Regions from separate parts of the Homo sapiens genome. Here regions 1 and 3 are each linked to region 2. Evidence: promoter capture Hi-C in 16 types of primary human blood cells and fetal thymus (Javierre and others, 2016). All regions are on one chromosome and are shown on one strand. The core of a region is centred on a gene start or on the middle of the fragment in contact, and the rest is flanking DNA. Distances in the headings are between cores, read along the strand shown. Region 1 holds the start of FMNL1-AS1 (FMNL1 antisense RNA 1). Region 2 holds the start of GFAP (glial fibrillary acidic protein). Region 3 overlaps FMNL1-DT (FMNL1 divergent transcript).

The links. Contacts are between HindIII fragments. The CHiCAGO score rates a contact against its expected background, and 5 or more counts as called.
Region 1: a contact is called between the fragment with the promoter of FMNL1-AS1 here and the fragment with the promoter of GFAP in region 2, in 1 of 17 cell types (monocytes). The highest score is 5.9, in monocytes.
Region 3: a fragment that was not itself captured here is called in contact with the fragment with the promoter of GFAP in region 2 in 2 of 17 cell types (endothelial precursors and naive CD4 T cells); the score reaches 7.2 in endothelial precursors.

The regions. Positions count from the first base shown.
Region 1 is chr17:45,240,520-45,243,019 of GRCh38, reverse strand. It overlaps FMNL1-AS1 (FMNL1 antisense RNA 1), which reads left to right and starts at 1,250. Exons shown (of 3, transcript NR_186808.1): 1 at 1,250-1,909; 2 at 2,416-2,500. FMNL1 (formin like 1) reads right to left here. Exons shown (of 27, transcript NM_005892.4): 12 at 2,395-2,500; 13 at 1,790-1,891; 14 at 1,386-1,638; 15 at 874-1,173; 16 at 555-679. RefSeq lists an enhancer at 1,140-1,858. The HindIII fragment of the contact is 17,531 bases long and covers 1-2,500 here.
Region 2 is chr17:44,914,250-44,916,992 of GRCh38, reverse strand. It overlaps GFAP (glial fibrillary acidic protein), which reads left to right and starts at 1,493. Exons shown (of 9, transcript NM_002055.5): 1 at 1,493-1,967. The coding sequence starts at 1,507. The HindIII fragment of the contact is 16,653 bases long and covers 1-2,743 here.
Region 3 is chr17:45,199,373-45,202,072 of GRCh38, reverse strand. All of the region lies in intron 2 of FMNL1-DT (FMNL1 divergent transcript), which reads left to right. Among named protein-coding and RNA genes, the nearest start is that of FMNL1-DT, 21 kb to the left of the region's middle. The HindIII fragment of the contact is 4,769 bases long and covers 1-2,700 here.

The sequences.
Region 1 (2,500 bases), core at 1-2,500, 330 kb before region 2:
GGCCACCAGCAGAGAACCAGTAACCCAGCCTGACCACAGGCCCTGATGGGAGGCACAGGGGAAGCACAGGGAGCCTGGAGGAGGAGGGCCGCCTAACCCGGGGGATCCAGACTTGGGGCCACAAGAGCTAAAGGAAGAGCTGAACTGGCCAGCGGTAAAAAGGAGAAAGGAAAAGACATTCCAGGCAGAGGAAACAGAATGGAACAATGGCCTAGAGGCAAGAGAATACATCCTTTTGGAAAACTGGAAGTGGAATCAGGAGGGCTGAAGCCTTGGCTGCCTGTGGGAAAGTGGAAGGAAAGAGGCCTGGAGGCAGAAGAAGTGGGGTGAGGGGAGGCACCCCTCTGCAGGGATGGAGGGGAAGGCGTTTGGGAAAGCAGGATTCTGCCTGTTAGAGGTATTGGTCCAGTCTGGCTTAATGCCCATCCCTGGGCCTCCCCCTCCTCATCTGTGAAATGGCTTGGAGAAAATGACTACCCCCAGGGCCCAGCCTGATCCAGGCAACTCCCCTCTTCCTCCGGTGCCCACATGGGGAGCCAGGCAGGGCCACTCACCTGCAGCACCTTCTCATCATTGAGCTCTGTGAAGACAGTGCCGGTGATCTGGCTGGGTTTCAGTGCCACCCAGTTCAAGAGTGGCATTCGGAACTTAGTCTGGATGGGCTTCTTGGCCTTCACTCCTGGGACGGGGGTTTGGGGGCAGTGGTGAGCACTGGGGGTACTACTGGAGGGAACCTGGGCCCAGGGAGGGCTGATGGGGCAGCCAGGAGGCAGCAGGAGGCCCCCAGGCAGAGGACCCTGGAGGACACTGAGGCCCAGGCCCCTCCCTCCATCTCCCCCCAGCCCCGGGCCCAAGGTGGTCCACTCCACTCACCTGGGCCCAATTCTGAGTCGCGTCTTCCTAGGGCATCAGGAGGACCTCCGGGAGGCGGCGGCGGCGGCGGCGGCGGCGGAGGCACCGGCCCGTCAGTGCCCGGAGGTGGTGGCGGTGGCGGGGGTGGGGGCGGCAGGTCTCCGGGCAGCGGCGGCGCAGGCGGGGGCTCCGGGCTGCCAGGGAGAGGCGGGGCCTGTGGGGGCGCAGAGGGCGGGGCTTCCTGCGGGGAGGGGAGGCCGGGCAGTGGGGGCGGCGGCGGTGGCGCTGCTCCGGGAGCCGGCTCTGCTGCAGGTGCGAGATCTGAGCCAGCGAGGGCGCGGCGTGGGGGAGGCGCGAGTCAGCTCCTTGACTTGGGTGGGCCCCTCTCCGCCTCTCCGCTCTACGCATGCGCTCCTACCTGAGCCGAGCCTACAATCCAAACCTCCCTCGCCCAACTCTGCCCGCCACAGATGCCCCTGGGCTCCCCTCCAGACCCTGCCCCGCATCCCCGCCAGCCTGAAGCTCCTGCGCACCTGGGCTGGGGGAGCCGGTCGGCACCCCCGGAGTCGGAGCATCACCGCCGCTCGGAGTTGCCACAGCGACGGGGAGGATCTCGATGGAGACAGCATCCCCCGGCCCCCGCAGAATACGGATTAACCCCTTCTCCTCCAGCTCCTCCACCTTCAGCTCCAGGGCCGAGGGCCGCGTCGGGGCAGCGGGAGGCGCTTTCTCAGGCTCTGGGGGACGCCTGGAGGGCCCCATGGCGGTCGATTCGCTGAAGCGCTCCTACGAACCCCACGGGAGGGGTCAGTGCCCACCAGCAGGCTCCTTGGCACCAAGCCTCCATCTTCTTCCCGGGGTGGAGGGAGATGTCAAGCCTAGAAGCCTCAGCTGGCCTGTTCTTGGGCGCCTGGCCTACCACCCGCCCCAGCCTCACCCGCAGGGTCTCCAACTCCTTGCGCGCCTGGCTTAGCTGTTTTTCCAGTTCTGCAATCTTGGCCATGGATTCGTTCTCCGCGTCCCGAAGCCGCTCTGTCAGCTGTAGCACCAGCACATGGTGAGCCCCGACCCGCAGCCCGGCACTGGCACCGCCGGTGAGGGGGCGGCATCAGGCATGCCTGCCTGGAAGACTGGGGGAGGCTCCCAGATCCGCTCAGCCCAGGTGCCAAGGGTGGGCCGAGCCTGGCACTCGAACCCAAGCAAATAAGGAGAGGAAACCAAGGTACCAGTGATGCGGGAGGTGGAGGGAGAGGAGGAGACTGAGCTGGGAGGGGCCCCAGGCACCCATTTCAGTTCACCTGGGGTCTGAGCCTGGGTAGAGGAGGGGCCTGTCAGTGAGGGTGCTCACCCACACTCATTGAGAAAGACACCCAACAGATTCAGGCTTTGGATTCAGGCCAGGCTCTGGGGCCAGGCAGGCAGCACCTCCAATGCACAATTATAACACTGTCTGCTGCCCAGTGCCCATGCTTGCGTGGCCCTGTGGCCCGTGTGCCCTGTGGGCCTATGATGTGCTGGGCTGGGGTCAGGACCCACTCTCACCAGCGCCACTTGCTCCTGCAGTTCCTCCATGTGCTCCAGCACAGCGTTCTTGGTCTCTGTGTCCTCCAGCAGCGCCCCCACATCAAAAATATTGTCCAGGTACGCC
Region 2 (2,743 bases), core at 244-2,743:
GCAGGGGGCTTGCATTGCACCCCAGCCTGACAGCCTGGCATCTTGGGATAAAAGCAGCACAGCCCCCTAGGGGCTGCCCTTGCTGTGTGGCGCCACCGGCGGTGGAGAACAAGGCTCTATTCAGCCTGTGCCCAGGAAAGGGGATCAGGGGATGCCCAGGCATGGACAGTGGGTGGCAGGGGGGGAGAGGAGGGCTGTCTGCTTCCCAGAAGTCCAAGGACACAAATGGGTGAGGGGACTGGGCAGGGTTCTGACCCTGTGGGACCAGAGTGGAGGGCGTAGATGGACCTGAAGTCTCCAGGGACAACAGGGCCCAGGTCTCAGGCTCCTAGTTGGGCCCAGTGGCTCCAGCGTTTCCAAACCCATCCATCCCCAGAGGTTCTTCCCATCTCTCCAGGCTGATGTGTGGGAACTCGAGGAAATAAATCTCCAGTGGGAGACGGAGGGGTGGCCAGGGAAACGGGGCGCTGCAGGAATAAAGACGAGCCAGCACAGCCAGCTCATGTGTAACGGCTTTGTGGAGCTGTCAAGGCCTGGTCTCTGGGAGAGAGGCACAGGGAGGCCAGACAAGGAAGGGGTGACCTGGAGGGACAGATCCAGGGGCTAAAGTCCTGATAAGGCAAGAGAGTGCCGGCCCCCTCTTGCCCTATCAGGACCTCCACTGCCACATAGAGGCCATGATTGACCCTTAGACAAAGGGCTGGTGTCCAATCCCAGCCCCCAGCCCCAGAACTCCAGGGAATGAATGGGCAGAGAGCAGGAATGTGGGACATCTGTGTTCAAGGGAAGGACTCCAGGAGTCTGCTGGGAATGAGGCCTAGTAGGAAATGAGGTGGCCCTTGAGGGTACAGAACAGGTTCATTCTTCGCCAAATTCCCAGCACCTTGCAGGCACTTACAGCTGAGTGAGATAATGCCTGGGTTATGAAATCAAAAAGTTGGAAAGCAGGTCAGAGGTCATCTGGTACAGCCCTTCCTTCCCTTTTTTTTTTTTTTTTTTGTGAGACAAGGTCTCTCTCTGTTGCCCAGGCTGGAGTGGCGCAAACACAGCTCACTGCAGCCTCAACCTACTGGGCTCAAGCAATCCTCCAGCCTCAGCCTCCCAAAGTGCTGGGATTACAAGCATGAGCCACCCCACTCAGCCCTTTCCTTCCTTTTTAATTGATGCATAATAATTGTAAGTATTCATCATGGTCCAACCAACCCTTTCTTGACCCACCTTCCTAGAGAGAGGGTCCTCTTGCTTCAGCGGTCAGGGCCCCAGACCCATGGTCTGGCTCCAGGTACCACCTGCCTCATGCAGGAGTTGGCGTGCCCAGGAAGCTCTGCCTCTGGGCACAGTGACCTCAGTGGGGTGAGGGGAGCTCTCCCCATAGCTGGGCTGCGGCCCAACCCCACCCCCTCAGGCTATGCCAGGGGGTGTTGCCAGGGGCACCCGGGCATCGCCAGTCTAGCCCACTCCTTCATAAAGCCCTCGCATCCCAGGAGCGAGCAGAGCCAGAGCAGGATGGAGAGGAGACGCATCACCTCCGCTGCTCGCCGCTCCTACGTCTCCTCAGGGGAGATGATGGTGGGGGGCCTGGCTCCTGGCCGCCGTCTGGGTCCTGGCACCCGCCTCTCCCTGGCTCGAATGCCCCCTCCACTCCCGACCCGGGTGGATTTCTCCCTGGCTGGGGCACTCAATGCTGGCTTCAAGGAGACCCGGGCCAGTGAGCGGGCAGAGATGATGGAGCTCAATGACCGCTTTGCCAGCTACATCGAGAAGGTTCGCTTCCTGGAACAGCAAAACAAGGCGCTGGCTGCTGAGCTGAACCAGCTGCGGGCCAAGGAGCCCACCAAGCTGGCAGACGTCTACCAGGCTGAGCTGCGAGAGCTGCGGCTGCGGCTCGATCAACTCACCGCCAACAGCGCCCGGCTGGAGGTTGAGAGGGACAATCTGGCACAGGACCTGGCCACTGTGAGGCAGAAGTGAGGAGGGGATGGGGAAGGGGGGCCTTGTGAGCAGAAGGGGCTGAATCCCCAAGAAGGAGTGCCCGAGAAGTCTCAGGGAGGGGCCGAACCTCCCTGCTCCCTGGGCCTCCCTACCTCTTGATGGGGCACTATCCTTGCCCCCCAACATGATGGGAGGGACCAGAAACAGGCCCAGGGCCCCGGGGATCTGATGCCCGCATGCCTTCTGCCAGGAGTCCAGGGTCCCCTCAGCACCTCCCTACTGGGGAAAGCAGTGCAGGAGCAGCGGGGCCCCTGTGTTTCATTCATGGCTGGGCTTTGTGACTGTGGGCAGCGAGCTCACCTATTCTGAGCCTGTGTCCATATAAAGGAGGAGTTGGAAGCGGAGAAGGTTGATGTCCATGAGGGAGATTGGATTCTGGGGTGAAGAAAGTGAGGGAAAGAGCAGGCAGGTCTGGGCGCAAAGCACAGGTGACTGCCTGCCACCAGCTTGTGACCCCCATCAAGTTACTTTGACTTGCACAGCTGTGAAGCGGTGGTCATAATAAAATTCATTTCAAAAGGTGGTTACCTGGGATCAGAGGAATCCCCAGGGGCATGGCGCTTCACTGAGCTGACAGGACATGCATGTGTGCCTTCAAGTGCAGGAGGACATGTGCGTGTGTGTGTGTGTGTGTGCAACAGTGAGTGTATGCTTGTGGATGCGCCTGTGTGAGCAGAAGCAGGTGCACCAACCCTGATAAGGCACCTTAGTAATGAGTTAAGGCAAAAGCCCACATCTGCTCATCCTCCAG
Region 3 (2,700 bases), core at 146-2,645, 290 kb before region 2:
TCTCATTGTGTCACCCAGGCTGGAATGCAATGACCCAATCTCGGCTCACTGCAACCTCCGCCTCCCAGGTTCAAATGATTCTCCTACCTCAGTCTCCCAAGTAGCTGGAATTACAGGCATGCGCCACCACACCGAGCTAATTTTTGTATTTTTAGTAGAGACTGGGTTTTGCCATGTTGACCAGGCTGGTCTTGAACTCCTGACCTCAAGTAATCCTCCCGCCTCAGCCTCCCAAAGTGCTGGGATTATAGGCATGAGCCACTGCGCCTGGCCATTATTCCATAAATATTGATGGAGGGCCAACTGCATGCCCAGTGCCGAGGGATAGAGAAGAATTAGACCCCAACCTGCCTAAAAAGAGCTCACGGCCTGGGAAAGGAGTATGAGGGGAGGTCTGTTTGCCCTAGGGGCTGCTGAGGAAGAAACACTAAGCCCAGATCCATTCCTGACATAATTCTGCCTGGACATCCACTGAGTCAGGGTCAGAGACTCAGGGCTGCCCTCCTGGGTTGTTGAAGGAGAGGCAAAGTTGAAACCACTAGAAGGTGGGGCTCCTCCAGGGGAAAGACCAATTCCAGGCACCCCATCTGAGGACAAAAGCTGAGAGAACATCTTCACTGGGGTGTGGGGAGTATACAAGAAATACCAGGACCAGGCCGGGTGTGGTGGCTCATGCCTGTAATCCCAGCACTTTGGGAGGCCAAGGCGGCTAGATCAGCTGAGGTCAGGAGTTCTGGAGACCAGCCTGGCCAACATGGTGAAACTCTGTCTCTACTAAAAATACAATAATAAGCTGGGCGTGGTGGTGGGCGCCTGTAATCCCAGCTACCTGGGAGGCTCAGGCAAGAGGATCACTTGAATCCGGGAGGCGGAGGTCACGGTGAGCCGAGATCATGCCACTGCACTCCAGCCTGGGCAATAGAGTGAGACTCAGTCTCAAAAAAAAAAAAAAAAAAGAAAGAAAAGAAAAGAAAAAAAGACCAGGACCTGCAGAATTTTCCTGACAAGCCACCACCTGCAAAGCTGGCTCCACAGTGGATCCACCTCTGTACCTCCCAGAGCAGCCGGCATTCTGTCATTTTTGTTGAAGGAAATGGGCAGAGACTGGGACAGCCAAGCGCGGCCTTCTGTGGTTTTAGGGAGAAGGGCGGGTGAGCCAGTCCGTTGCCCTGAGAAGAGGTCAAGAGGATGAAGACTATGAAAGCGACTGAGTTGGGCAATTAGGGGTCCCTAGTGGCCTTCAAAAAGAATGCTTTCAACAGCAGCTGCTGAAATTTCAAGGGCAAGTTCGGTAGCGGGAGGGGAAGAGGGAGAGAGAGAATGCAGAGCCTAAGCCAGCCATCAGCAGAGTGAAGACACACGCATAATTCATGATGTCCTTCTTAACTTGTTTTGAAAATCTGATTTTTTTGACAGACAACTCAGGGGTTAATCAACCTCAGAGGTTCAGAAGTTCCATGAATCCCTTAAAGTGGAGAGAACTCCACCCAAACAATATAATATTGCTTATATTTGCACCAGGGAGACATAGCCTGAATCTATCCATAAGGAAATACCAGACAAACCTCAAATAAGGTGCATTCGATTAAAAGGAAAAATGTGTGGGGGAGTCCTACTCTGAAAAAATGTCATGAAAGATGAAAAAGATGAGGAATTGCCCCAGATTAAAGAAGCCTAGGCCAGCATGGTGGCTCACACCTGTAATCCCAACACTTTGGGAGGCTGAGATGGGCAGATGGCCTGAAGCCAGAAATTCGAGACCAGCCTGGCCAATATGCCAAAACCCCATCTCTACTAAAAGTACAAAAATTAGCTGGGTGTGGTGGCGTGCACCTGTAATCCCAGCTACTCAGGTGGCTGAGGCAGGAGAATCACTTGAACCCAGTTGAGCCGATATCGCACCACTGCACTCCAGCCTGGGCAATAAGAGCAAAACTCAGTCTCAAAAAATAAAAATAAATAAAAAATAAAGAAGCCTAAATATCTGGGTGTGGTGGCTCATGCCTGAAATCCCAGCAAGCACTTTGGGGGCTGAGGCAGGAGGATTGCTTGAGCCCAGGAGTTCAAGACCAGCCTGAGCAACATAGGGAGACCCCTGTCTCTACAAAAAATAGAAAAATGGCTGGGCGTGGTGGCTCATGCCTGTAATCTCAGTATTTTGGGAGGCCGAGGTGGGCAGATCACGAGGTCAGGAGATCGAGACCATCATGGCCAACACGATGAAACCCCATCTCTACTAAAAATACAAAAATTAGCTGGGCATGGTGGCAAGTGCCTGTAATCCCAGCTACTCCAGAGGTTGAGGCAGGAGAATTGCTTGAACCCAAGAGGCGGAGGTTGCAGTGAGCCAAGATCGCGCCACTGCACTCCAGCCTGGCGACAGAGCAAGAGTCCGTCTCAAAAAAAAAAAAAAGAAGAAGAAGAAGAAAAATGGCCGGACACAGTGGTTCACGCCTGTAATCCCAGCACTTTGGGAGGCCGAGGTGGGTAGATCAGCCTGGGCAACATAGTGAGACCTCATTTCTTTTTTTTCTTTTTCTTTTTTTTTTTTTTTGAGACGGAATCACGCTCTGTCACCCAGGCTGGAGTTCAGTTGCGTGATCTCAGCTCACTGCAAGCTCCACCTCCCGGGTTCATGCTATTCTCCTGCCTCAGCCTTCCGAGTAGCTAGGACTACAGGCGCCTGCCTAATTTTTTGTA